Linked DNA regions of Homo sapiens: all the other regions are linked to region 1. Evidence: promoter capture Hi-C in 16 types of primary human blood cells and fetal thymus (Javierre and others, 2016). All regions are on one chromosome and are shown on one strand. The core of a region is centred on a gene start or on the middle of the fragment in contact, and the rest is flanking DNA. Distances in the headings are between cores, read along the strand shown.

Region 1 (4,613 bases), core at 1-2,500:
AGAAGTTTTAGACCTCAGCCTCTGGCCCTGGGCCTTCTGAAATGACCTTCCTCCAAACACCATTTAATTTCCGCTAACTTAGTTAATGAATGGAACTTTCTGAAGACAGCAGTTACTTTGATCTGAACCCCTTTCCTAGTTTCCAGTTAACATAGCCAGAGGGAGACAGAAGGGGTGCCCGCCTCTCAATGGGTGCCCTCTCCTCCTGCGTGGCTGGAGCAGCTCCCAGCTGTAGCTATTCCTCTAACGCAGAGAGAGCTGCAGAAAGCAGTTCCCAAAAGGAAGAAGGCAAGTTACAAATACCGCCGTTGGCATTTTCGTGGGTGTTTCCCGCCACATAGAGATAAAAGCTTTGAGGTGGGGCTTTGAGGCACACTCTCTGGGTAGCTGGGCCTGCAGTCTGGAAATCCTAAGTAATCCTTGCAAATAGGCTAACTGGAAGCCAGCAATACAAATGAGCAGTGCTTCTGGCCTGAGAGAAAGGTGTCTGCATTCAAAGTACAACTTCAGATAAAAATGGAAAATGCCAGTCCCACCCTGCAGGAATCCTGTTTCTGGGCTGTTTATCCTCACTGCCATCCACCCTACCCTTGGCTGTGACTAGGATGTGAAGAAAGAGATTGGGTGGAAAAGGCTACCGCAGCTCTTGCTCCGTTTAACTCACCACCTTAAAAAACATGGCCTTGGCTGCTGCTTTAAAACAACAACAACGAAAATCCCCAGCCCCAACCCAGAGGTTTAACCCTGCAGCTAAGGTGAAGTTTTTGTTAAGGTGATAAGGTAAAAAAGGACGCCATTCTGAGCCTTGACTTCCACTCTTCATACTTTTCGGAAGACAAGTCCAGCAAAGACCTCCACCCCTTCCAAAGAGCGACTTACCTCGTAGCTGATCCACAGATTGCAACGTACAGATGTGATGTTCCAGGCTTGGCCACAAGGGGACACTAGAGAGTAGGACTGCCCGCGTCAATGTTTTGTTTTTTACAGACTTTTGGTTGGGAGGGAGGGAGGGAGGGAGGGGGGTGTGGGAGTGGTGGGGGAGATGCTGGCTTTAAAAAAAAGTCCATTTGTTCCCTGAGATTGTGCCACTTGCCCTTTTATAAGTCAAAGGTTGCCACGTTACCTGTTGCCAGGTTCCTGAGAGTGCTTGGGGAAAATGTGGGCGAGAGAGGCACAGCACAGTCCTCCGGCTTGGTAGGTTTCAAGCTCTTTTGACTGGGCTGGCGCTGACATTTGCAGGGGCAGCTGCTGTGGATTGCCTGCGCATTGTTTGGCTGTAGTTCTAACAGAGGAGTGGCTGCGTCTGACATCATTTCCAGGCATCAAGTGCCTGGGGCTTTTTTTTTTTTTTTTCTTTAATGACGAACTCTCTGACCCCTCCCTGCCTGGATTTTTGTACAGTACATGCACTGTGCAAAACAGCCTCCACTCAGGAAGCCCAAGTTTTGTAGCAGCTTGTTGAAACAACTTGGGTGCCTTTTAAAAAAAATAAAGTTGTGACTCTGAAACAAACCTTTCCATTCTTCCTCCTTGCTGAGAACAATGTTGCGTTTGATTAGCAGCGCAGCCAGTGCTTTCTGAAAGATCTGCTCTCCCCAGAAGAGGCGGCTGCTATCAGTTGAATAGATCTCTAGGCCAGACATGCCGAGGCTTGGGGCATTTGTCTGGCGTTAGGAAGTGTCTGGAATACTAGCAACTACCAACTGGCGTGTCTTATGACTACAGGAATTATTACACTACCCTCCATTTCATTCACATCCCCTCTCCTCCCCTTACACACACACACAAGCATATTTTTTTCTACTTTAGAAAAAGTTGAGCGAGTCATCTTGTGGTTTCCGTGGAGGATGTAACTGGGAGAGAAGACTGTGGGATACCTTGTATCTCCCAGAGGGGGGCCGGGAATCATGGTGTATGACCCACCCCAACAGCCTCTGATCTCTGCCTTCTCACCACTGACCGCCACGCTTTGGGTGGCCTTAAATGTGAAGCTGTAAATATTTTGAAATAAGGTAGTGATTTTTCCATGTGCATTTTGTTTTGTGGCATTTCTCTCCTTCTGCAATATTTTAAAAGTTGCAACTGTGCACCCCTTGTTGACCACTCCAAATTCATTCATTCACTGAAACTTAAGAGTTCCTGCAGAGTGAGGATGGCTGTGCACGAAGGAGTCCCTCGTGGAAACCACGGTGCTTTAGTGGACAAGGTGTTTACTAGAGAGTGTTTACTGGCGGGGGGCGGGGGAGATAAACAAAGGTGGTTTGAGTTAATGGTCAGATGGGAGTTGGAGCCCTGAGTACTCTAACTCTGTCACTGAATCTCTAGATGAGTTAGGGATGTCCGTTGCCTGCTCTGAGCCTTAATATTTTCATCAGTTAAATGGGGATAGTGGGATCTTTCACATATGTGAGATCATGTCTATTTTCTTCTTTTTCTTTTCTTTTCTTTCTTTTTTTTCTTTTTCTTTTTCTTTTTCTTTTTCTTTCTTTCTTTTTCTTTTTTTTTTTTTTTTTTTTTTTTGAGGCAGGGTCTTGCTCTGTCACCTAGGCTGGAGTGCAGTGGCACAGTCATGGCTCATTGCGGCCTCCACCTCCCAAGCTCAAGTGATCCTCCCACCTCAGCCTACCGAGTAGCTGAGACTTCAGGCGTGCACCACCATGACCAGCTAGTTGTTGTTGTTTGGGTTTTTTTGAGACGAGGTCTCACTCTGTTGCCCAGGCTGGTCTCCAACACCTGGGCTAAAGCGATCCTTATGCTTCAGCCTCCCAAAGTGCTGGGATTACAGGTGTGAGCCACCACACCCAGCCCCCATGTCTATTAAGTTCTTAGCACAGTGTCCAGTACACAGAGTAAGGATTTGCTCTCTGGTGATTAGGAAGATCTAATGGCATGTCACGGGTCTGGACTGAATCTCATCTCATCATCTTTGTTGTTGCCAGGGTTTGCGCATTTTTGCCGGTGGAGGACTCCAGCCAGACCGCTGATTTGTCTGGCATTTGTTGGAAAGTCCGGCCAGCATAACACATCACCGCAAGGAGCAGGAGCCCTATGATGCACTGTTAAGTGCACAACTATGGGGTCTGCTTGGCTGGAAGCAGCAGCAGCAAACTTGTCTATTAGTTATTTTGTCCTCATCAGTGCCAGCTGCTTTCCCAAGATGGCAGAACATTCATCATTGCTACCAGACAGCCTCGTTGGAGCTCTTTCTCTGGCCTCCTTTTTTGGCTTCTTTCTTCAGCTCTTCAGCATCATTCTCTGTGGGACCCTCCCTAGTTTGCAAATTCTTGTCTAAATTTCACTCATTATCATAACCATCCAATTTGAAAGAAACCTTGTCATCTAGTTGAGCCCCCTATCAGATGTTGGTACAATTGCTATAGCCTCCCAGCCAAAAGATGTGCTGGTCTGTGCTTGAACAGGTCCAGGGGCTGAGAACTCCCTCTGTTATGAGGTCCTCATATTCCTTCTATGGACGGACAATCAATGCCTGGAGAATTATTCTTTATGCCTCTCTGAGCCCTTGCCTTTGTTGTTCCTTTGGGGACTTATACAAAACAGGCCCATGCTATCCTCTAAGCAAGAGCCCTCCAAATAATTGAAAACCCCCCTTTCTTCTTTTCCAAATGAAACACCCCGTCTTTTTATTTTTATTTTTTGTTTTTTATTTTTGACGTAGTCTTGCTCTGTCGCCAGGCTGGAGTGGTGTGATCTTGGCTCACTGCAACCTCAATCTTTTGGGCTTCAGCAATCCTCCCGCCCCAGCCTTCCAAGTAGCTGGGACTACAGGTGCCACCTACTTGGAAGGCTGGGGCAGGATTCTACCACTCCTGGATAATTTTGTGGAGATGGGTTTCACCATGTTGCTCTAGCTGGTCTCAGACTCCTGAGCTCAAAGAGATCCTCCCACCTGGACCTCTCAAAGTGCTGGGATTACAGGAATGAGCCACCGCAACAGGCCTAGGTCCATACTTCTAATCCTACATGCCTTTCCTGAAATAGACACCTTACCTGACATTACAACCATAAGTCCAATCGTTCCCATTCTGTATTTCTACAATAGAAATACATTTATGTCCCCAGTTTAGGTCCTTCCAAGTTTCTTTTTTTTCTTTTGGCCTCTTCACATCATTTTGTTTTCTAAAATAGCCTGTGGCTTCAAGTTACCTCTTGAATATATTCTTAATCTCACTTGTACTACCTCTGCCCTGTTCCCTGGATTTGCAAATGTTCTTTTCAGTGCTTCTCAGCCTATCTCTGGTAAGGGACCAGTTTGTTTGTTTGCCCTCAATCTGCTGCAGATTAGTGCTTTGGTAAAATGCAACAAAAAAGAATTACTAGAAAGAGGACTTTTTTTTTAAGACATACAAAAAACAAACCCATAATTTTTGTTTTGTTTTGTTTTGTTTTTAGATTCAACAGGTAAAACACTCTATAAAATTGCTATAAAAGTTTCTAAACACTTACATTCAATTTTCTTTGTTTTTTTTTTTAGACGGGGTTTCATTCTTGTTGCCCAGGCTGGAGTGCAATGGCACCGTCTCGGCTCACTACAACCTCTGCGGCTCACTGCAACCTCTACCTCCCGGGTTCAAGCAATTCTCCTGCTTCAGCCT
Region 2 (5,089 bases), core at 1,600-4,099, 260 kb after region 1:
CTACTAAAAATACAAAAAATTGGCCAGGCGTAGTGGCGGGCGCCTGTAGTCCCAGCTGCTGGGGAGGCTGAGGCAGGAGAATGGCGTGAACCCGGGAGGCGGAGCTTGCAGTGAGCCGAGATCGCACCATTGCACTCCAGCCTGGGTGACAGAGCGAGACTCCGTCTCAAAAAAAAAAAAAAAAAAAATCCCATTCATATAATTTTTATCCCACTTACATCAACTTAATAAATGTATTCTTAACAATTCTGTTTGGGTTGCTCATGGAAATTTTTTTCTTCTTTTCTTTCTTTTTTTTTTTAGAGACAGAGTCTTGCTCTGTTACCCAGGCTGGAGTATAGTGGTGGGATCATGGCTCACTGCAGCAAGCCTTGAACTCCTGGGCTCAAGTGATTCTCCCACCACAACCTCCTGAGTAGCTAGGACTACAGGCATGTAATGCCGGGCTGGTATTGAACTCCTGGCTTCAAGTTGGAACTTCTTTTCCCAAGGTTCTGGGATTACAGGCATGAGCCACCATGCCTCACTAAAATTTTTTTGTTTTGTTTTGTTTTGTTTTAGACAGGGTCTCACTCTGTCACCCAAGCTGGAGTGCAGTGGCGCTACCTCAGCTCATTGCAACCTGTACCTCCCTGGCTCAGGTATCCTCCCAGCTCAGCCCCCTGAGTAGCTGGGACTACAGGCACACAGCTCCATGCCCAGCTAATTTTTGTATTTTTTATAGAGATGGGGTTTTGCCATGTTACCCAGGCTGGTCTCAAACTCTTGGTCTGAAGTGCTCCACCAGCCTTGGCCTCCCAAAGTGCTGGCATTACAGGCGTGCACGCCATTGCACCCAGCCTGAAAATTTCTTAAGACATTAAACAAAGCTACCCATCATCTCAAGTTATTTTTCTGTTAACTTATTTCATGTTAACTTATTTTAGGCAATTATCAAAAAAATCAAAAAAGCAAATAACCTAAAATAAATAAAACTAAAATTTAAAAAGTTAAATACTTTTTTTCTGTGCTTCATATACAAGAAATAATGGATATCATGCAATTCATTTTTATCGCATCTTTACTCGTACATTTGTTCTTTAGGTTAAGTTTATAGTTTTTTAATCTTAAACATCTGACAGATACAAGGTTATTTGACTGGTAAACCCAAGGCGAATAAAATGTATACTTGTTTCATGCTTAATGCTGATAACTTGGAAGACATACCACCTGTTTTTATTAAACCAACAAATTCAATTTAGTCTTATTTACCAAAGATTTACCCAAATTACATGAACTTGAAAAACATTTGGGTTAGTTTCTATACTTCTGAAAGTTTTAGGAATATTTTAATTTATATAGCCCTTGTTTGTCTAAGCCAATTAGAACTCCTTTAGGGGATTTTAGAAATTAATTTATTAATACCACTCAGAGATAGGAAAGTATCACATATACATAACATACATGCATGCATACAAACTGGAGCAAATAGAGATCTGATGGCTTTCATCCTAAAATTTTTAGCCATCTATAACAATAGTCACAGCACCCAAGGCGTAAACACAGTAACACAAAATTCACTGGTTTACAAGAGTTGGTTCCTGTCTTTACTCCCCTTTATGTTTTTATCCAAATTGTATTTTTTATTAGATGGAATATGTTGAGATTACCAGCTCAATATGAGGATTAAAACTTTCCATGGATATTTACAGGAAAGAGTTTAAGATTTTTTTTTTTTTTTTGTAATCTTATGGAATCTGTGTACTAAGATTTAGGACTGAGTTTGTGGACTAAGGGACTGAGCACACATCAAGAGGTTGTGTGGATGTCTCCAAATCCCATCTGAGTGGATGAAACATCCATTCTATTTTCAATAAGCCTTTTTAGCCTCATATGATTGCATTTGGGGGCCCCTGAACCCCTCAAGAGCCCCTGTTGATGGGAGGAGAGCTAAAGCTTGAGTGACTGTAAAGAGATGGGGGGCTGGAATGGGAAAGAAAAGATCTGACAGGGGCAGACAGAGGGATGGAGGAGGTAGGGTCTTGAAGGGGACATGTCAAAGGAGCTGAAGGGAAGACTCGAGGCAGTAAAAGGAGGAGGAGAGATGGTAAGAGAGAGGTTTTAGAGGAGCTAGTTTGGGGAGATCTTAGTTTTCCAAAAGGGCCACTAAAGTCCCATGACTTTATCCTTATTAAAGTCTTATCAACAAGAAAGGAAGTGGCCAAATTTACCACCAAATGGAGTCACTCACAGGGTCCCCAGCAGAGACCCAGGAGTCTAATGCTTAAGAAGGTTAACATTTACCAGCTTGGTCAGAGGTCTGAGATCGCTGCTGTCTGTAGATTGAGTGGGGAGTCCTAATCATTCCATCCTACACTTGCTGAAAGTGTAGAGAAGAAACTTTGTTTATCCACTGATACGGGTTGGCTGTGTCCCCACCCACATCCCATCTTGATTTGTAGCTCCCATAATTCCCATGTGTTGTGGGAGGGACCCGGTGGGAGATAATTGAATCATGGGGGCAGTTTCCCTCAGACTGTTCTCATGGTAGTGAATAAGTCTCATGAGATCTGATGGTTTTAATAAAGGGGAGCCCCTTTTTGCTTGGTTCTCATTCTCTTTTTGTCTTGCTGCCATGTAAGATGTGCCTTTCATCTTCCACCATGAGTGAGGCCTCCCCAGCCACGTGGAACTGTGAGTCCATTAAATCTCTTTTTCTTTATAAATTACCCACTCTCAGGTATGTCTTTGTTAGCAGCGTGAAAACAGACTTTTTGCCACTGACTGGCAAAATGTTGGGAGCCTGAGAATTAACTTACAATAGACAGATTAGCAGGAGAAAATAAAATACAATGTTTATTTACATGCGCATGTGGGGGTACTCATTACTGAGTAACTCCCTGAATACTCAGAGGTAAAGAATTATATACCAACTTAACAAAAAGTGGGAGTAGGGTTTGGGCTTCAATGGGAAAGTAGAGAAGGTTCTGTTAGCTTTTATTATGCTGATGGGTAGCAGAATTCTTACTTGCTGATGCTAGGGCCAGTCTTCTCCCAGTCAAGAAACTCCCTCAGAGGGGGATCATAGCAGCTGTAATTCAGGAGGCTCTGCTTAAGTTTACATAATGTTTATTTTTGTAGTTACAGATTTCAGATGTTTCTAATTTTTATACCACTTTGGAGGGCTACTACTCTTTTCATTGGCCAACTTTACAAGTTGGGCAAATGACCGTTCTCTAACCAGAGGCAAGAGTTATGGCCCATAGAAGGTTTGCTCTGAGAGAAAAGTACCCCATACAGTTAAGAGCCCAACCACATGATTTCCAGACAGCTCGTATAGCCTAAAGTATGTCAGTTGAATTACCTTGCAAGTTGTAAACTAATCGACAAACTCAGAATCAATTGGATGTTATTTTAATACCCTATAAGAGTTATGAAATCCTAAGAGTAAGAATAAATGTAGGAATCGAGCAAATTCAAAGTTCTTTAAAGGAACAAGGACAACATTTACACATCTTTGCCAAAGAGATGCAAATCCAATCAAGTGATGTGAGTGGGGTAAACTCTTCTGAGAGAATCAGAAGGGTCTTGGTTTTGGGCTACTTGACCTATCCCTCTTCTGAAATTAAGGAGTAATTGACATAGCAACCACAAATAGAATTCATTTAGTTACCAAAGAACTCAGCCTCCTGGCCAAAATATTTGGTGGTTGGGCAACCTCAAGCTATAGTTACGTGGGAAAATTGTAGCCTGAGTGGGAAGTGCCTTACCCAAATAAGCTTTGAGAACAAAACTCACCGTATTTGTATTTTGGGGTTAAGGAGTTTATACATATTTGATGTTTTATAAACTTATCATGTTTTAAGATGATTGAATTATTCTAAATCCATTTTAAAATACACAAATACATAATTGATTCTGATATGTGTAAGTTTATATCCAGGTCTTAATTATTTAAGAGAATTTCATGTTCAACATATTATCAGTTTAATTGACCATATCAAATTTAAAAGAATTATTTAGTGCTCAGGAATGTTTCATTTATTAAGTCAGATAATTGTTTAATAAAATTAAATATGAATTAAATTTATAAGTGCAGTATAAAAGGTTCTAAAATATTTGATTTTGTTTATAAATAGGACCAAGTTTTAATCAAAGTTCTCTGTAGGCAGGATTCAGTGGCTCATACCTATAATCCCAGCACTTTGGGATGCCGAGGTGGGTGGAACACTTGAAGTCAGGAGTTCAAGACCAGCCTTGGCAAAATGGTGAAACCCCATCTCTACTAAAAATGCAAAAATTAGCCTGGCATAGTGGTGCATGCCTGAAATCCCAGCTACTCAGGAGGCTGAGGCAGGAGAATCACTTGAATCCCAGAGGTGGAGTTTGCAGCAAGCTGAGATCATGCCACTGCACTTCAGCCTGCCCAACAGAGCGAGACTCTGTCTCAAAACAAAAGAAAAGAAACAAACAAAAACAGAAAACAAAGTTCTCTGTAAGGTGATTACCAAATTCACCCAACTTAAAAAAACAGAATTTGTAAGGTGGACTTAAAAACCTAAGGAAGTATTAGATTGTGAGATTTGTATCTTAATATACTGAATACTAATATAACCATTTAAATTAAATATTCTTTTCCTGCAAACAAATCCACCTGTGAGGATAATCCAAAACTCACATTTCACATAGGTCATCGTGAAAATTGAAAGTGATAATCACCATGAAAGTACTCTGAAAAGTCAAGCATGCTCTGTGAGTATAAGGAATAAGGGAGACAGTGATTGGCTCTGCAGCACCTATTCAGCTCCTCTGGCTGCTCATGGCTCTCCCGTGCCCTTGGAAATGCTCAGTTAGGAAAAGGCCTGTTGATGTGTCTGGATGTGATGACTAGGATCTCAATGGCCATCTAGGGAGAGGATTCAACCTGCACCATATAAGGGAAACAGCAGAGGTAGAGAAGGAAGCTGAAGTGCCTACCACATCATGACTGGGGCTACCCTATCTCTGGACTTCCTATGGAAAAGAATACATTTCTTGATGGTTTATATGGATCCAAATTGTGTTTTTCTATTATTTGCAGACAAAATAATCTCACAGACATAAGAAGTTA
Region 3 (4,863 bases), core at 1,092-3,591, 280 kb after region 1:
AAGAGGAATATTTATTATTTTTCCCTTACAGATCTGATGTAGATAGAGCAAAATGTGGAGGAAAATTTAATAACCCTTCCTCTACATTAAATTGTCTGCGTCTTCCTTAAAAGTAAATAAGCTAAAAAATTTTGAACAAAAATTCCATAGCCTAGAAGATCTAAAAGTAAACAACCAGACTTCCAAGTTTCAAAAAGAAAAGTACACACTTAAAGCAAACAGAAATCATTAAGCAAAACAAAGGTTGTGTTAAAACTATAAATATATTCTGATGAAAAATTAACATCAAGTATATGACATATAAATAAAATAAATGTAGTAAATACATAGGAGAAAAAAATCAGATTGGGTTAAAAAAAGATTAAATGTCATATATAAGAGAGTTAGAAACAAAGTTATTCAGAAAGAAAAAAGGGAGGGCCTGGCGCGGTGGGTCACGCCTGTAATCCCAGCATTTTGAGAGGCCAAGGTGGGTGGATCACCTGAGGTCAGGAGTTCCAGAGCAGCCTGGCCAAAATGGCGAAACCCATCTCTACTAAAAATACAAAAATTAGCTGGGCATGGTGGCACGCACCTGTTGTCTCAGCTATTTGGGAGGCTGAGGCAGAAGAATTGCTTGAATCCGGGAGGCAGAGGTTGCAGTGAGCTGAGATCGCACCACTGCACTCCAGCCTGGGTGACAGAGCGAGACTCCATCTCGAAAAAGAAAAAAAAAAAAAAGAAACATAAAAGGGAAAGAGAGATTAATAAATCTCAAGACAATGAAAGCAAAAAGAGAGCTGGTATCAACATCAGTCAAGGATGAATTCAAAACAAAGACAAAGTTGAAAAATGATAAAGAAAAATTTTATGATGATAAAGAAGTGAGGCTTTACCTATCATAAATCTTTATGGACTAAATTACATATTCTTCAAATACATTAAGAAAAAATTGCAAATGCACAAAGAATTTTAAAAAGACAATAAGAGTAAAAGACATTCACTCCTTGGGAAATTCATTTCCAGTTCTTTGAAAAATACTAAAGAATAGGCCGGGCGCGGTGGCTCTCGCCTGTAATCCCAGCACTTTGGGAGGCCGAAGCGGGCGGATCACGAGGTCAGGAGATCGAGACCATCCTGGCTAACACGGTGAAACCCCGTCTCTACTAAAGATACAAAAAATTAGCCGGGCGTGGTGGCGGGCGCCTGTAGTCCCAGCTACTCGGGAGGCTGAGGCAGGAGAATGGCGTGAACCCGGGAGGCGGAGCTTGCAGTGAGCCGAGATTGCGCCACCGCACTCCAGCCTGGGCGACAGAGCGAGGCTCCATCTTGGAAAAAAAAAAGAAAAAGAAAAATATTAAAGAATAGCTAGAGGCCAGGCGCGGTGGCTCAGGCCTTTATCCCAGCACTTTAGGAGGCCAAGGCAGGCAGATCACCTGAGGTTGGGAGTTTAGAGACCAGCCTGGCCAACATGGTGAAACCCCGTCTCTACTAAAAAATAATACAAAAATTAGCTGGGTGTGGTGGTGCACACCTGTAATCCCAGCTATTCAGGAGGCTGAGACAGGAGAATCACTTGAACCCTGGAGGTGGTTGCAGTGAGCCGAGATTGTGCCACGGCATTCCAGCCTATGCGAAGAGCAAGACTCCGTCAAAAACAAAAAAAAAGAAGAGATAGAAAATAAGGAATATGATTACGCAAAAAAAAAATACTAAAAGAGAAGAGAATTGAGGGAGACTAATCCTAACAGAAGTGAGCACTGATTCCAAAACTTCAACAATTAACTGACCAATGGAGTAGATTAAAAAGTCCAGAAATAAAACAAACAAACAAAAAAAAGAAGTATTTTTAGGTGACAAAAATCTGTGGAACAAAAGTAATTATTCAATAAACATTGTTGGTTCAATTCACTAACCATTTAAAGAAAAGCATATTTTAACTCTTGCCTTATTCCAAAATAAATTTGAGGCAGAAATATGAAGCAATTGAAATGTTAGGAAATGCTAGAAAAATTGTGAACAAAGTGAGAAAATTTTAAGTACATATTGTTGAAGTAGATCTTCTTTCTAAGCAGAATACAACCCCACAAGCCAAAAAAAAAAAAAGCATACATTTAATTTGATGAAAATATAAGTTTTCTGTTTAGCTTTAAAAAAAAAATCACTCAGTATAGTTTTAGAAAACAAGCAACAGGCCGGGTGTGGTGGCCCACACCTGTAATCTCAGCACTTTGGGAGGCTGAGATGGGTGGATCCCTTGAGCCCAGGAGTTCCAGACCAGCCTGGGCAACATGGTGAAACCCTGCCTCTACAAAAAATACAAAAAATTAGCCAGGTGTGGTGGTGGGCCTGTAGTCCTAACTACTCAGGTGGCGGAGGTGGGAGAATCGCTTGAGCCCGGGAGGTTGCAGTGAGTCGTGATGGGGCCATTGCACTCCAGCCTGGGCAGCAGAGCGAGACCCTGTCTCCAAACAAACGAACAAACAAAAAAAAAACAGGGAAGTAGTTGCCACGCACATCATTGAAAAGGGCTAATTTCATTGACAGATTTAAAATTTCTTATTCAAAAAATATTTGATAAAATTGAGTTTGTGGAGTGTGTGAGTAAACACATTACAAACTCCTGAAAACCTTTTGTTTTATTTTTTAAAATTCTTTATTGAGATAACATTGACATGTAAAAAACTGCACATATTTAAATGATTTGATCAGTTTTGACGTGTAAATAAATCTGTGAAACTATGACGGCTTGAAAATAATGAAGATATCTGTCACCTCAAAATGTCCTTGTGTCCCTGCAATCTCTCCCTCCCTCACTCCTCTTTTCCACCCCCAGTCCCTAGGCAACCACTGAACTGTTTTTTTGCTCTTACGGATTAATTTGCATTTTTGTCATTGTATACAAATGGAATTATACAGTAATACTCTTTTTGTGTGTGGCTTAACTCAGCATAAATATTTTGAGATTCATCCATGTTGTTGTATATATCAATAGTTCATTCTTTTTTCTTTTTTAATTTTTTTTTTTTTTGAGACGGAATCTCCCTCTGTCGCCCAGGCTGGAGTGCAGTGGCGCGATCTCGGCTCACTGCAACCTCCGCCTCCCAGGTTCAAGCGATTCTCCTGCCTCAGCCTCCGGAGTAGCTGGGATTACAGGTGTGCACCATGCCCAGCTAATTTTTGTATTTTTGGTAGAGATGGGGTTTCGCCATGTTGGCCAGGCTGGTCTCAAACTCCTGACCTCAGGTGATCTGCCTGCCTCCACCTCCCAAAGTGCTGGGATTACAGGCGTGAGCCACCGTGCCTGGCCAGTTCATTCTTAATCATTGATAAGCATTCCATCATCAGAATGTTCTACAATTCATCTAGCCATTCACCTGTTGATGGACACTTGGGTTGTTTCCAGGTTGGAGTTATTGCAAATGGAGCTGCAATGAGCATTGGCGTACAAGTCTCATATGGACATATGCTTTTATTTCTGTTGGATGAATATCTATCTAGGGGCGGTAAATCCTGATATGGAAAAATATCCATGATATGTCACTAAATTTAAAAATTAAATATAGCATGTGTACTTGAGTCTCATTCATGTACATTTTTAAAAGATACACAATTTTATATGTGCTTCATCACTAACTTCACAGTTTGGCTGAACTCCAAATGTCTGACAATTAAAATCAATATTTCATTAAAACAATAACTAAAGCAGATTATACCACCATAGAACGAAACTGCTGGGTTACAAGAATAAATCTGGAATTAATTTAAAAATTCAAATATTAGTTAAAAATTTACTAGTCATATTTTTAGATGATAAACATCTGTGGGACAAGAGTAATTACTGAATAAGTGGTGTTGGTTCAATTGGTTAACCATTTAAGGAAAAACATATTTCAATTCCTGTCTTATTTCAAAATAAATTCAAGGCAGTGTTTCATGTAAAATATAAAGTAATCAAAATGGTTGAAAATTTTGTGTGAAATGTGAAATTTTAAAATATAATTTTGAAGTAAATTTTAAATATAATTTTGAAGCAGAGCACAACCCCACAAGTGAAAAAATAAAACATGCAATTCATTTGTGGAAAATATAAAGTTACTGTTTGGCTAAAATAAAAGTTACATAAATATAGTTTTTAAAAAACAACCAATAAAACTAAGAAAATATTAAATACCAAATAACTAAATAAAACTCTTAAGGTGTATTTGGCTTACCTAATTCACCAAACAAGTCTACAGAAATTTGAATTTTGATACTCTCTGATCTCAATTATTCTTCCTTTTATTAATACTTTTTATAAACACTTGTGGACTCAAAAAAGTGTTGGATTTTTTCTTAAAGTTATCAAACTATTTTTTTTTTTTTTGAGACAGAGTCTCGCTCTGTCTCCCAGGCTGGAGTGCAGTGGCACGATCTCGGCTCACTGCAAGCACTGCCTCACGGGTTCACGCCATTCTCCTGCCTCAGCCTCCCGAGTAGCTGGGACTACAGGCGCCCACCACCACGCCCGGCTAATTTTTTGTATTTTTAGTAGAGATGGGGTTTCACTGTGTTAGCCAGGATGGTCTCGATCTCCTGACCTCGTGATCCGCCCGCCTCGGCCTCCCAAAATGCTGGGATTACAGGCGTGAGCCACCGTGCCCAGCCTAAGTTATCAAACTATTTTAATCTGTGCACTGCCAGTCTATTGCCTTATTTATTTAACTATTTGAAAATTCTTAATATATCTAAATGAATGAATGTGGTAAGTTGCAATAAATATTTACAAAAGCAGAAGGGAGACTAGATTTCACCGAAGAGCTGTGAATTGCAGATCCCCTGACCTGGGTGATAATTGATCATGCCCTGAGAATGCTAGAATGGGGATGCTGAATTTGGCATTTG
Region 4 (4,978 bases), core at 1,871-4,370, 400 kb before region 1:
ACGTTGCACCAAAGCGAGAGAACACTAGGGGGCAGTGTGGTTAGAGCAGAACTCTCAAGAGGCTTGGAAAGGTGCGCTGAAATCACCAACAGCTGGTGCGATAAATGGGGTCTAATAGCAAGAAAAGAATGCATTCGTTTAACTTTACTTTGTGAAGTTACGTGGCCCACATGCATATTATTCACAAGGTCTTGGAAGAGACGCTTTGTTCAAACCCTGAGCCCATAAGTTTAGGGACAAGCTCTTCCTGGAAAGGTCTTTCTTACGGAATTTTCTGTCCCGAAGAAGATACAAAAGAGTAGAGCATTGCCAGAGAGTAACAATTCATAAATACTAACCCCAAGTGCCAGTATAATATTTAGTTCCTACCTCATTTTAACCTTCACTTGTATCCACCATTCCTTCTATTTTCTTCTATTCACCCGGGCTTCTTTGCAGCACAGTCATTTTAAGAATATTCTGAGAGCATCTTAGCTCTCACTCCATTTCAGCTCAGTGAATTCTAAGGCAACAAAAGTGTATTAAGTAATTAATCCATAATGCCAGCCACTACCTAAAAAAAGGATAAGGCCAAAGCTAAAAAAAAAAAAAATCAAAAGCTAGGAAAACTTATTAACATTTTCTAAAATTACATTGTTGTTGCCTATTTTAAGGGCATGAGTAGTGACTTTATGCTACATTTTGCAAAAAGTATTGAGCATAATCTATAGATACTTAATGTATGATGAGGTAAACATTTACACCTCAGACTCAGAACAGGCAGACAGCTAAGTTCTCTCGCTTTTTAAATATGCAATGAATTTTCTAATAGTCAAGTAACAAATCTATTTCTCTTTTAGAAAATTAGAATCTATATGTATTAAAGAGCTGTGCTCCAAATTGTGAGTCTGGCCTACTTAAATTTGAATAAATCATTCTAGAGAGTTGACATTATTTAGTTTTGAACAATTCTTGAAGTCTTTTTGGACTTTATAATTTAGCAGCAGGTGGTTCTGGTCATTTTAAAAGTCCGTGATTAATGTAACTAATCCTAGTTAGTGTTTAGTCATCTCTTCAGATCTTTTGTACCTGGAATTTCTAGAGCCTATTTGCCTGAAATTGTATAAATAATAAATGGTTTGCTGTCCTCTATATAGTGGCAAGCATCCAGGTTTCTGCAACTCGAAATTTCAGCTCCTCTCAGCTTCTATCAGGTTTGAGATATTTTTAGCCGCACTCTGTCAGTCAGAATCCCATGAAAGAGAATCCCATTAAGAGAGTTGAGGTGAATTTAGAGAAGGGTCTGTTTATAGAGCAGGGAGCAGGGTTAAGAAAATACAGCCAGAGAGGCCGAGGTACCCAGAGACAAGCACAGTGGGAAGCCCTCGCCACTCTAGGCCTGAAGAGTCAGATGAAGGGAAGGAACGGGGTCCCCAAGCCTATGGGCACTAGAGCTGTGGACAGGCTGCCATCGCAGAGGGGCAGATTGCTGCTGAAACACCAGCACAGGGAGGAAGTGGCACAGAAGGACCCAGAGCTGTCTCCCCCACCCTCGGCACCCCAGCCAGGGCCTTGCCTGGATCACCCGGTGCCAGGCAGGGAAAAGCCAAGCACTGGGGAAGGTGGCCTAGGAAAGGGAGGGTCACAGGCCACTGAACATTCTCACTCTTAATAAACAGAGTTTTACGCTTCAAGGGGGTCTCTGTGGTTCTTCTCTCCTTATCTTTTTACTTCACTCACCACATTCTTACCAAACCAAAAGGAAAACAACAGTGGAGGGAAAGTCTTACACATGTCAGGCTTTTAGACAGAACCTTTTATTCCTCATCTCATATATATTTTCTGCTCTATAAAAAACTAAAACTTTATCTTCTCAACATCTCGCTATGATAAGCTTTTAAGTGGGTCTTAAGCCCACTTAAAAGATGCTGCACCCTGATTTTGTTGCTGCACCCTGATTTGGGGAAGCTTGGTCAGTGATCCCATGAGAAGGGAAACTATGAGAGATTCATTCTCTCCTGAATCGCTTAGGAGGTCCCATTAAAGCCCCTGCTAAACTCGTCATCCCCAGTCTGGACCACGTTTGGTTAATTTCCAGTTTTTCCTTTCCTTGCAATAACCTGCTTGAAACTCCACCAGGGAAAATAAATAATAATTCAAATGCAAAACGCGTTGTCACTTTTATAAAATATTGCTCTCCTTGCCCCACCCTCACCCCCTCCCTTTCTCCCCTTCATGATTTTTACTGAAAGGAGGAAAGACAAGGAAATCTCAATGGTTTCATTCTTAGCACACATTCTAAGTCTGTCATTAAATGACCGCTGATTTTGTCACATACATATGGACAAAACTCTGTAAGAAAGCAATTGATTAAAATCAATGAGAATTTGCTGCGCTGAAATGGAATCAGTGAATAAAAATTTATTCTGTTTCTTTTCTTTTTTCTAAGAGTCCTCTCCATTATTCAAAAGAAGCCTGTCTTATCCTGTTTCCAAACTCCTTTTCCTTTTCTTTCCCCTATGCTGTTGATTTCCTACCTTCTTCCCACGTGAGTCGCCGGTGCAAGAGGGGGGTTCCTGCTTGGGTACCCACATCAGTAGGTTTTGTCTCCTCATCTGCTTGTCTTCTGAAGATAAATCGTTGGCAGAACTGAAAAAAAAAAATCATGGAATGGCTTTTTTACATTTCTGCCAGGGGGAGGCTATTTTGTAATCTTTTTGCAGCCTTCCTGTGCACAACCCAATCCCAAGCTGACTTGATTATCTCCTTAACTGTTAAGAGCAAAATTTAAAACTGGATTTTGTTACCTGCCCCAGGAGCAGATGCTACATTGCTGAGGTGTCTTGTGAATTGCCAGCGTTCCTTTTCTTTTACAGACAGGTCTTAAAGGTCTTCCAGGGACCCCCTATTAGCCAAATAACCTTGATAGTTATTACAGAGAAATTGTAATTCTTTTTGAAAGTATTTGTACACTCATCCATGCCAATATTTATAGATCAGTTGATTTTTCCAGGTTGTGTAAGTTGCTAACAATGGAACTCCATTTATTTATTTATTTATTTAGAGACAGGGTCTGGCTCTGTCACCAGGCTGGAGTACAGTGGCATAATCACGGCTCACTGCAGCCTCTGCCTCTCAGGCTCAAGTGATCCTCCCGCCTTAGCCTCCCAGTTAGCTGAGACCACAGTTGTGCACCACCACACCTGGCTAATTTTTGTAATTTTTGTAGAAAACAGATTTCACCATGTTGCTCAGGCTGGTCTGGAACTCCTGGACTCAAGCATTCCACCCGCCTCAGCCTCCCAAAGTGTTGGGATTACAGGCGTAAACCACCGTACCCAGCTGAGACTCCATTTAAATAGGTGGCTTTTATGTGAATTATTAATTTTGATAAAGAGAAGAGAAAAGCTGATAGATCAGTGTTTAAAAATCATTTTATGAACTAAGTTCAAAAGAACAACTAGGGCCTGCAGACTTCCCTACTTTACAAAGTAGTGGCCTGGCCAAGGATGTTCCAAACAAGAAATCTTTTCAAACGTGCTTTAAATCATTAAAATAGGGGACCAATATGAGTAAACCAATATAATGAGGCAAACTAAGTAGGAGATTTTTAATGAACATTTTCAAGGCACAGGGAAAGAAGCCACAAAGAGTAACAGCATTTTTCTGCACATACTGTCTTATGAATCTAGATTCATCTTGTTTATTGTGGAACTATGTGATTGGGTTAGCCATCAGGGGAGAGAAGTACTTTATGATGTAAAAGCTGAGTCTCCAGAGATAAAAATCTCTTCAATTTGTCATTTTTCAAAATATCACAAAGAATCCATGTTTCCGTGGTCTTCGATAAAGAAAGCGTGTCAAGGCAAGATATACACAAAAAAATAAATCAAAGTGGTTAGTTACAATGGGATAAGCAACAGCTACACTGAAAAATTCTATATGTAATGCAGTTTTCTTTTTGTGTGGAAAAGAGTAGGACAAGATATGAGATTCCTGGTCTGGAGAGTGGGTGAGATATTAACATATTAAAGCAGGAATGTCTGAAACATGCATTGTGTATTTTCCACTGTCTCAGCCCAAATCAGGCATAGCTCTGGGGAGAAGGGAGAAGGGCAATACCAACCAGAAAGTATCTCTGTGATTCTTCAGGCTGCTTGGGCAGTCAGCCTCCAGAAGAGACCCCACTCAAATCTGGGTCATCCAGGCACACTGGCCACTCACCACCTCTGCGGTGTTATTTCAAGGATGCTAACCCCAAGGTTCCCACCACTGCCACTGGCCAATATCTGAAATTCCCCTGACAAAGCTTCCTCATTAGCATAAGGTTTGGACTCCTGAAATGAACCAACCATGTCTCTTAAACTTTTCCTTGAACTCTATCCCCCCACCGGAAATACAGAGAGATGAGTAAATACAAATATATAAGAATTCTATTTAATTCTAATCATTTCAATATTTACTGAAAAAGTCTGAGCAAGACATCAGTAAAAAACTATAAAATCTCAGAATGGGCTTGTGCTTTAGAGATACAGGAAATGAGGTCTTTTGTTTTTTGTTTTTTTATATTAATATTTACTTTATTAGAAATTAAAACAAATTTTAAAAAAATTTGAAAAATTACCTATAAAGTTTTATGCTGATTACCTGGGTGACAAAATTATCTATACACCAAACCCCTGTGACACACAATTTACTCATGTAACAAACCTGCTCATGTACCCCTTGAACCTAAAATAAAAGTTGGAAAGGAAAACTAATAACTCCATTAAATCTTCACATAAATAACATACATTTTAGAAAAAAAATAACCATTTTGCCAAAAAAAAGTGAGTGGTTTTATTTTACATTTTTATAACTAATAACTGGTTTAATAGAAGGCAGCTAAATTCCTATATCTGCCTCTTTATTCACTCTGTTGCATGTACTATGTTGTCTTGGTCAAACTGTAGAAGGCAAATCTGGCTTTACATACATATATAATGTGAGAAAGGAGGAG
Region 5 (4,971 bases), core at 219-2,718, 270 kb before region 1:
CCTCTGACAGGTTCAGTTTACGTGTTACCCAAAAGACTCCTGTCTACCCCACATTGCTTATGCCTTTGGCCAAAGGGAAAGGGCTTTCCAGAAAGGCCCTTGGAGTGTCCATTATGGCCTATCCAGGGTACTGGTTTAATTGAACCCTGTTTGCTGAGACAAGTGAGTCTCAAACCTTTCCAATGCACATTGAAAAATGAACATGATTGATGTACAAGTGTCAACGTCTGGCTTCATTTGTTTACTCACCAGACTTCCAAAGCTGCATTTTTCGTATTGCTCTCTGAAACCAGGCACTCTTTCGCCATCTTTGAGGCCTGGAAAGAGAGAGATCACTTCAGCCCAACAAATCAGAACAATGCCATTGGTGGCAGGCCCATTGGAAAAGCTTATTGAGGCAGGATTCCCTAATGTGGACTGTCAGAGGAAGATAATGTTTAGGATTGGAACATCAGCAGGGTTGTCACTAGTCAGGCTGGGGCAGCACAGAAGCAGAACTGCTGAGATTGCACATTTGACTGACTTCTGAAATAATCCTATCTCAAAAAGACCTTTGGATGGGGTAGAGGGCAGGGTGGGGGCACTGGGCAGAAAGTCAAGCGCAGAAGGGCAGGGCATCTCATCCACCTAATTCAGGTGTTCTCTATCTGAGGCTGTGTGCCCTGTAGGATGTGCAAGATTGGACTCTACACAATCAGCAAACTCCTGAAATTATATAAAAGTCAGGGGAGTGGGTGAGATGTTCATCTTGCTTAGAAGAAAAGTTCTTAGCCTTTATCATGTGCCCAGAAGAAATAAGGGGTCACTAACAAGTTTAAATTATGACATTTAAAAAATTATATGCTTTTTCCTTAAAAGCATAAAATTGATGGCTTTCCTTCTTCCTTATGATGACAGTTTATTAGGAAAGCCTGTAGAATAATTTGAGGAATATAAAGTTTTTAAAGAATTATTATTGTGGATGAATATTAGCTGAAGTGAACAGATCCTCTATTGGAATTTGGAGCTCCTATAACAATGTAATCCCTGTCATAGGATTTTTTGTAAAGGAGTTTTTCCTGAATAATCGATTCAAGTAACAAACAATGAAGATCTTCTCTATATAAGCGTCGAAGTTGATAGGAAATGGGAATTCAAAGACTTCTAAAACAGTTCCTACTCTGAAAAAGTTTATAGTCCAGTGGAACATTAAATAACTAAATACATGGGCAAAGGGAGAAGCATAAAGGTATCTGAACAAAGAATAGGGAAGTTTACAGAAAGAATTTAAACCTGGATTGTAAGTAAGGAAGGATGGAGGATAAGGACGTTTCCTCATTTGAAATATCATATCTCTGAAGCCTTGAAAGTATTTCTATGGGAGTATAACGGGAGAGATTTCTCTTAGCATTTTCTCATTATTTGTTAATCTCTCAATAGTTCAGCCCTATATCCCCCATGCCTGACAAGTACCTGAAAATCACTTAATTCCATCTGCAAAGTCCCTTTTTCCATGAAACGTCACAAATTCAAGGGCATGACACCAGGAGGTGGAGATCATGGGAGCCAAAATTCTGTCTGCCACAATAATTCAACAGTCAACATAGATGGTAAATTAGTGAGGCGTTCACCTTCATTGACAGCCATGCAGTTCAAGGGCCATGAAGTTCATTCTGGGAAGAGTAAATATAGCTTTGCTACCAGAAAGCTGTGTTCAAATCCTGTGTTTTAGCAGTTATACAACATTGAGTGAGATATTTCATGTCTATCTGCCATGGTCTCCTCCTCTGTAATGTGGAGATAATAAAAATACCTATCATACAGGGTTGTCAAAAGAATTAATTGTGTTAATACATGTGGAAGGTGCAGACCAATGCTTGGAAATGGGACATTATATGATGCCTCAATAAATCCTATTATTATTATGCCTGAAAAAACACAGTGTTAGCAGTGTGAACTGAAGCAAGAGAGCAGATTTAAGAGACATTGCAAAAGTTACTGTTAGAGATTACAGTTTCACTTATCAGGGTTTTGAGCACATGAAACCCTTCAGCATCTGTATTAACTTCCTATGGCTGCAATAACAAAATGCCCCCAATTTAGTGCCTTAATACAATGCAAATTTATTTATTTATTTATTTTTTGAGACAGAGTCTCGCTCTGTCGCCCAGGCTGGAGTGCAGTGGCGCAATCTCGGCTCACTGCAAGCTCCACCTCCCAGGTTCACGCCATTCTCCTGCCTCAGCCTCCCGAGTAGCTGGGACTACAGATGCCCACCACCACGCCTGGCTAATTTTTTGCATTTTTAGTAGAGACGGGTTTCACCATGTTAGCCAGGATGGTCTCGATCTCCTGACCTCATGATCTGCCCACCTCGGCCTCCCAAAGTGCTGGGATTACAGGCGTGAGCCACCGTGCCTGGCCCACAACGCAAATTTATTATCGTACAGTTCTGCAGGTTACAAGTCCACAATGGGTCTCAATGAGCTACAATCAAAACATCAGTAGGGCTATGTTCCTTCTGGAGGTTTCTAGAGAAGACACCCTTTTCTTGCCTTTTCAAGCTTCTAGAAGCCACCTACATTCCTTGACTCCTGGCCTCTTCCTTCATCTCCAAAGCCAGCAATTGCATCACCCTGATCTGTGTCTGTGGCCACAACTCTCGCTCTGACTTTCCTTCTACTTATTTGTGATTATATTGGGCCCACTTGATAATGCACGACAATCTCCCCATCTCAAGACCAGTAAATTACTCACATCTGTGAAGTCCCTTCTGCTATATAAGGTAACATTCACAGGTTCCATGGATTAAGACATGGGCGTCTTTGGGGAGTCCGTAATCTGCCTACTACAGAATCTACTATCTAAAACATAAGCTATTTCTTAAACTTAATACCATTTTTTTAAACTTGGTGTGAAAGATGTGTGAAATTATATATCTATTGCCTATCAGCTAAATGAGATCATTGTATATATGCACTGGTCCCTGGATATTTCACGTATATGGTGATGAAATGAAAATACCATCCATTTCTGTGTTTTTTAGATTATTTTAAAAGAATACTCTTCTAAAATAGTTAGGCAGCATGTCCATTCAAATCACTATTTGAAATCAGAGCACTTGTAGATGGTGTACTTACTTACATACTCTGCAGTATACAGTCATTCACTCTTAAATATTGTTAATTTTTGAGTTGCAATTAATTTTTTAGTCCCTGTTAAAAATTGTCACCTGCTCTAACATCTCACTTAAAATATACTTATAACCTCATGTATGGAAAAAGCTCTGAAGCATGAAAGTTCTATTGTTCACTCTTCTTGAAACATAAGCATTCAATAGCTTCATCCACCACTTTTCTTCTTACATTTAAAGTGTTAACTCTTAGTGTCATCTAAAAGGAGTGTTCCTTTCTTGTGAGATGGTATGCCCTCTAATGTTTATCATGTGAAAGCTCATTTAGTAAGCTTTTTAGAGCAGAAGAATCTCATGCCAGACAATTTTTTAGTTTATTAGATCTAGATTCCCCTTTGCCTATGAGTAACATATTTGCTGCTTCTTATTTGAAATTTTTATCAGTCTCTTAACTTTATAGTAAAACACCAATTATTCATGTCATTTGAAATCCCCTTCCAGTATCTATACATGTAAATGCATACATCTTGCACATTTGCAATCAGGTGTTTTATATATATATATGTGTGTGTGTGTGTGTGCATATATATATACGTGTATATATATGTATATATACACGTATATATATATATGTTTCCCTTTTGTTGTATATGATATAATTTTTAATTCAGACACTTGTGAGCACTAAGTATATTTCAGATTAAGGGCTCTGTTAAAGGCTGGGAATACAAAGTTGAAAGGACATGACTCTTGCCCTCAAAGAGCTCTCACCAACCTGGGAGGAGAGGGGAACTGATGGTTAAAGTTTTTTAAATAGGAAAAAACATGTTTTAAGTATAGAATCACCTGGACTTAGTGATTGAACTACTGAGGTGTCTGGAAAGAGAAAAGTAAAAATGATGAAAAATTTATAGTTTGAAAAATTGGGTGCCTGTCAATACTTCCAACTGAGATAATTAATGTAGGAGAAAGAATACATTTAGATGGAGAAGTTGGTTTTGTTCTCGGCCTGCTGAATCTTATATGCCTGAAGCCTATTCAGTTGAAGATATCCCGTAGGCAAATGTTCATTTATTCAGATACTATTTGGGAAGTTATTATAGTAAACCAGATAAGAAATGATTGTGTTTGGAATAGGATTGAAGCAATAAAGATGGAGAGAAGTAAACACACCTTTCTACTGTATCTTGAGAGTATCAAGTTGGTCAAGAATTGAGTGGGGTGGATGAGGAAGAGGGAGGAATGAAGGCAGCTGGATTTATGATTGTGCAGTTCTGGAAGACATCAGAACTGGAGAAAGGCACTGGGGAGTTATCACATAGGAGGCTGAGAGGAGTTTGAGAGTGAATGAGGTCACACTGGGGCATGTGTAAAGTCAGAAGATGAGACATCACAAGCCAACTTCCTGGGCTACACAGCAGGAATCATAGGAAAAGCACTAAGAAAGGTCATAAAAATAGGCCAGAAAAGTGTGGGAGTAAAGGGAGACGAAGAGGATTTCAAGAAACAGGGAAAGTTTAACAAAGTCAACTACCAAGGAGTGGTCCAGTCAGACAAGGAATGGAAAGCTTGATCGTGAACTTGGCAATTGGGAAGTAACTACTGCACATGCCAAGAGTTTCCTTAAACTGGTAGGGTAAAAATCATTTTGTGTCATTTTGATAAATGTTTATTATTTTCAATAATACTCTATCATTTAATGAAAATATGTATTGTTATTATAGTATGTAAATACACCATGGCTAGAATATTCATTTCTATTTCTATTCATTGTCATTTGAATTTTTAAACAGCTTTTTACCATTTTGAATAATACCATAAATGTCATTTTCAATGAAAGGCTAAAACTCTTTTCCTGG
Region 6 (4,584 bases), core at 2,046-4,545, 280 kb before region 1:
CTACTCGGGAGGCTGGTGTGGAAGGATGGCTTGAGCCCAGGATGTGGAGGCTGCAGGAAGCAGAGATGGCGCCTGTGCACTCTAGCCTGGGCAACAGAGCAAGACCCTGTAAAGTGCAATACCTAATTTCCAAGAGAAATGTTAACGACTTTGCCCTTTTCTTCATTCCCCCAGATCCCTGCCCAAGACGGGTCTGGAGCCTGACTTCCGGGTGTCCATGACCCTGGCGGCTGCTTCCGGTCCGCCATGAAAGGGCTATCAGGCAGCCGCAGCCATCACCACGGGGTCACCTGCGACTCGGCCTGTGACTCGCTGTCGCACCACTCCGACCGCAAGCCCTACCTGCTGAGCCCAGTGGAGCACCACCCCGCAGACCACCCATACTACACCCAGCGGAACTCCTTCCAGGCTGAGTGCGTGGGCCCCTTCAGCGACCCGCTGGCCAGCAGCACCTTCCCCCGCAGGCACTACACCTCGCAGCAAGAGCTGAAGGACGAGTGTGCCCTGGTGCCCCGCACCCTGGCCACCAAGGCGAACCGCATCCCCGCCAACCTGCTGGACCAGTTCGAGCGGCAGCTGCCACTCAGCCGCGATGGCTATCACACCCTGCAGTACAAGCGCACGGCCGTGGAGCACCGCAGCGACAGCCCCGGCCGCATCCGCCACCTGGTGCACTCGGTCCAGAAGCTCTTCACCAAGTCGCACTCCCTGGAGGGGCCGTCCAAGGGCAGCGTCAACGGGGGCAAGGCCAGCCCTGACGAGGCGCAGGCGGCGCGCTATGGCAAACGCAGCAAGAGCAAGGAGCGGCGCGCGGAGCCCAAGGCCCGGCCCAGCACCTCCCCGGGCTGGTGGAGCTCGGACGACAACCTGGATGGTGACATGTGCATCTACCACGCCCCCTCGGGCGTGATGACCATGGGCAGGTGCCCCGACCGCTCGGCCTCACAGTACTTCCTGGAGGCCTACAACACCATCAGCGAGCAGGCGGTGAAGGCCTCCCGGAGCAACAACGACGTCAAGTGCTCCACCTGCGCCAACCTGCCGGTCAGCCTGGACACCCCGCTGCTGAAGAAGAGCGCCTGGTCCTCCACGCTCACCGTGAGCCGGGCCCGGGAGGTTTACCAGAAGGCCTCGGTGAACATGGACCAGGCCATGGTGAAGTCCGAGTCGTGTCAGCAAGAACGCTCCTGCCAGTACCTGCAGGTACCATTTCTGTCAATGATGGAGGCTTAGAAGTAGTACCTGGCATGCTTGTGTGGGCATTTCTCCTGGTTCTAGTCTTGGCACTACTCTGAATTGTCTATTAAGATAGGAACCTGTGCAAATTATTCGGCATCTCTGTGCCGAATTGCTCCTGTAGGGAAAATGAAAAGAAACAAATGCTACCGACCTCACCGGGTTATCTTAAGACACTAGATATCCAAGTGCTTTGAAAAGCACGCCTATGGAAAGGCAACCAGTTATTATGGGCTTCCTCTTTTGTCTGAGGGATCATAGGATGGGAAAGAGAGGAAAGGGAAGTCTACAGAGAATTTTAAAAGAAGTCCACCTTTCTTTAATTCAAAAATACGTGACGATCGTTTGAATTTTGGAAAGAGTTTCATTAGATCTATTCAGGGTTTTGTGGGGTGGTTTTCATTGTGAAATCCTGCCTGAAGCTATGTTAGAATACTGCGATGGTCATCATCATAACCATCAGTAACTACACCCCGACCTGAGCTTCCACATCGAGGGCACAGCAAATCAGGAAGACGCCCTGTGCCCTGAGGAGGTGGGGAGCTAGCCAGTTTGGGGACCTGACAAGCACAGCTGCAGACACCCAGGACAACAGAGAGGAGGAGGAAAAGGAGGAAGGATTAGAGAAGTAAAATACAATTAGTGTCAGCATGTAAATCCCACACACTTACAGAGCCACGGTAGGCTGCTCTTCCCCTGCCACTGTCTCCTTGTGTTTTCCTCCAGTTCACTGAAACCAGATGTTACCTGGATAAAAATATAGGAGAGAGATGTTTTTCTTCCCTACCTCCTTGCTGTAGTATTGTAATTTTTCCCAAGGCACATTTTTCCATAAGAACTCTCATCTTTTCCTTTTTCAGAGTGTCTTTTCTTCTCTGTTCTCTCCTGGTAGCCTCATCTTAAAAAAAAAAAAAAATTACTGAGCTATAAAAGTATAACATACCCACTCCCATTTTACACTCCCACCTTAAGAAGAAATGCAAAGAAAAATTCTTCCTTTGAGGAGTTCATCTTTTTTGCTCCCTTTGAACTCCTCCTGACAAGTCTGGCTCCCTTGGGAATGCCTCCATCAATCCCTGAGAAGACCCCAAGCTGGCAATCCCTGGACAAGGGCAGTGCCAGAGCCTGTTCTTGGAGTTCAGAAGAAGCCACCAGCACATGGACAGTTTTCATACACGACACACAATTATGTGGTCAGTACTTCCCACTGAAGCTGGTGTTGCCTAATTTCCTGTAAGGTTGCTACATGTTAATAAGTTATCAAGAACTATAACAATTTCAGAGCTCAAAGAATCATTTAATCCACTTAGCATATGAAAAAGTAGACACAAAGAAAGGTAAATACTTAGTGGGTTAAACCGTTAGCATGTGGCAGAGGTGGGACTAGAACCCAGTCTCTTAACTTAGAGAAATGGCCATTAATGAAAGTTGCAACCGAAAGCTCTAGAAACTCTTTAAGAACATAAAGCTTCACCCACCACTGAAAGTAAAGTATTTCGATAAGGATATCTGTCTTACAAAAAGTAAGGAGTAAAGAGATAAAAGCCCTAGAGTACCACACATTTTGTCTGCGAAGGTTCTATGACCAGTGGCAAAAACAAAACAAACTGAAAGGAAACAAAAACAAAAACAAAAACACCTGTACTTAAGTAAGTAATGATGAGATTAGATGAGAAGTATCAGAGTAAAGGATGCTGTGTATGGATCTAGCATAAGCCTTTGTTAGTAATGAAATGTTTTCGTTATATCTGCCTATATGCCTACATTCTTCCTTCCTTAGGTTCATTTTTCTTTCTTTTTTATACCTTTTTGGAGTTGCGATCTCAGGTAGTGGTGAAAAGTGGAAAGATAAGGAAAGTGATATTAATTGAAAATCTACTATATACCAGATGCTATAGCAAATGTGTTCCCATTTCTTATTTCATTTAATCTTTGTGATAATCCCAAGATTACTGAATGTAATAATATTCTATTTTTATAAGAGAAGAAACTGACACTTAGAAATATCAAGTCATTTAAAGCCCCACAATCTGGAGGTTGTACAACTGAGATTTAGGCTCAAGTATGTTTGATGCCAAAACCAAGCTCTTTCTAATATGCCCTAGCACAGACCTGAAATCAAGGGCATCAAAAATGGTGAGCAAGAAGAAAATAAAAATCTTTAAAATAAGCATATTATTATTAAAGTTTTTCAGTAAAATGAGAATGAAATCTTAAAGGCTTAAGTATGGGATTTAGTAGTAGCATTATTGGATCTCCTACTATAAAGATTTGGAAATTCTATTTTCAAACTATTTGCCTTCTTTAAGTCATTTTTGTAATGAAACGTTTGAGGCTTACAGAAAGGTATAAAGAAAAAAAATAAAACACCCATGTATACATCACCCGTCATACAGAACTAAAACATTCATTACAATGGATCACAGACACACTCATATTAATCCCTTTACTTCCCTTCTTCCCCAGAGTAATAGCTCATCTGTCTTTGACACCAAAGCACCTTTGTTTTCAATTCTGAAATTATTGAAAGGTTGAAAACAGTTTAACATATTCTGTCCTACATTGGGAAATAATTAACCAAGCTAGTTCAACCTTTTAAACTAAACTCCAAGTTAATCCTTATTAATAGATATTGAATGTATTAAGCTTCTATTTATGCAAGACTTTCAAACTAGGGGAAAAAATCTATATTTCAATGTTGGGAGGTAGTATGTTAGTAAGAGAATTAAATGTAAAACAGTGTAGACCTCCCAACCCCTGTGCTGAGGCTGAAGAGATGCTGTAAAGAAAGGGAAGAAAGAGCCATATATTCATATGGGGTCAGAGGAGAATAGAAAATACCTCCTGAGAACTGGGCTTCTGGCTCCCTTCTTGCTTCTAGGAAATGAAAAGAGGATCTGCCACCCCGTGCAAGCTCTGCTGAGGAAGATAGGGTTAGCCCGTGCCAGCTAGCTCCAAGGGAATAATTTCATCTATAGGCTCATTCTTAGAAGTAAATTTGGGAAAACAGAGAGGGAAAGAGGGTTTCTTTGGAGTTCTTTTTTTTTTTTTTTCAGCTCTATTGCCTTAATTGCCAACTAATATTGAAGCTGGATTTACAAATGGATTTAACTTCAATATTAGAGACTTAGTAGGCAAAGCACTATTCTTCTAGTTCCCGGAGCGTTCTAGTCCTTATTTGCTGCTAACTAGTAACATGACCTGGAAACATGCTTTCAGCTCTCTGGACCTCCTTCCTCTGCTAGAAAATGAGGCGCTTGGTCCAAAAGATGTATGATCTCAGTATGCATTTTCAAACTCGTAAATTACATGTGTCAGAGTACTAATTAGAACTATTTTCAAGAATTG

Evidence for each region. Contacts are between HindIII fragments. The CHiCAGO score rates a contact against its expected background, and 5 or more counts as called.
Region 2: a fragment that was not itself captured here is called in contact with the fragment with the promoter of DLGAP1-AS1 in region 1 in 9 of 17 cell types (naive B cells, M0 macrophages, M2 macrophages and 6 more); the score reaches 9.0 in naive B cells.
Region 3: a contact is called between a fragment that was not itself captured here and the fragment with the promoter of DLGAP1-AS1 in region 1, in 8 of 17 cell types (naive B cells, naive CD8 T cells, M2 macrophages and 5 more). The highest score is 9.9, in naive B cells.
Region 4: a contact is called between a fragment that was not itself captured here and the fragment with the promoter of DLGAP1-AS1 in region 1, in 1 of 17 cell types (erythroblasts). The highest score is 6.0, in erythroblasts.
Region 5: a contact is called between a fragment that was not itself captured here and the fragment with the promoter of DLGAP1-AS1 in region 1, in 1 of 17 cell types (monocytes). The highest score is 5.5, in monocytes.
Region 6: a fragment that was not itself captured here is called in contact with the fragment with the promoter of DLGAP1-AS1 in region 1 in 2 of 17 cell types (monocytes and M2 macrophages); the score reaches 9.2 in monocytes.

What each region holds. Positions count from the first base shown.
Region 1 is chr18:3,590,751-3,595,363 of GRCh38, reverse strand. DLGAP1-AS1 (DLGAP1 antisense RNA 1) reads right to left here and starts at 1,250. Exons shown (of 3, transcript NR_024101.1): 1 at 1,124-1,250; 2 at 880-944. All of the region lies in intron 7 of DLGAP1 (DLG associated protein 1), which reads left to right. RefSeq lists enhancers at 1-78, 1,491-1,610 and a silencer at 199-493. The HindIII fragment of the contact is 5,788 bases long and covers 353-4,613 here.
Region 2 is chr18:3,331,178-3,336,266 of GRCh38, reverse strand. No RefSeq gene overlaps it. Among named protein-coding and RNA genes, the nearest start is that of LINC01895, 17 kb to the left of the region's middle. The HindIII fragment of the contact is 1,823 bases long and covers 1,938-3,760 here.
Region 3 is chr18:3,308,694-3,313,556 of GRCh38, reverse strand. No RefSeq gene overlaps it. Among named protein-coding and RNA genes, the nearest start is that of LINC01895, 39 kb to the left of the region's middle. The HindIII fragment of the contact is 5,204 bases long and covers 1-4,863 here.
Region 4 is chr18:3,990,741-3,995,718 of GRCh38, reverse strand. All of the region lies in intron 3 of DLGAP1 (DLG associated protein 1), which reads left to right. It overlaps DLGAP1-AS4 (DLGAP1 antisense RNA 4), which reads right to left. Exons shown (of 5, transcript NR_102696.1): 2 at 2,517-2,628; 3 at 370-502; 4 at 3-111. Among named protein-coding and RNA genes, the nearest start is that of DLGAP1-AS4, 31 kb to the right of the region's middle. The HindIII fragment of the contact is 2,341 bases long and covers 1,950-4,290 here.
Region 5 is chr18:3,857,251-3,862,221 of GRCh38, reverse strand. The region is part of intron 4 of DLGAP1 (DLG associated protein 1); the gene reads left to right. Among named protein-coding and RNA genes, the nearest start is that of DLGAP1-AS3, 18 kb to the left of the region's middle. The HindIII fragment of the contact is 2,155 bases long and covers 391-2,545 here.
Region 6 is chr18:3,875,731-3,880,314 of GRCh38, reverse strand. DLGAP1 (DLG associated protein 1) reads left to right here. Exons shown (of 13, transcript NM_004746.4): 4 at 175-1,203. The coding sequence starts at 247. It overlaps DLGAP1-AS3 (DLGAP1 antisense RNA 3), which reads right to left and starts at 2,135. Exons shown (of 3, transcript NR_038895.1): 1 at 2,024-2,135. It overlaps LOC124904238 (a long non-coding RNA gene), which reads right to left and starts at 2,490. Exons shown (of 4, transcript XR_007066270.1): 1 at 2,203-2,490; 2 at 1,908-1,983. The HindIII fragment of the contact is 1,178 bases long and covers 2,707-3,884 here.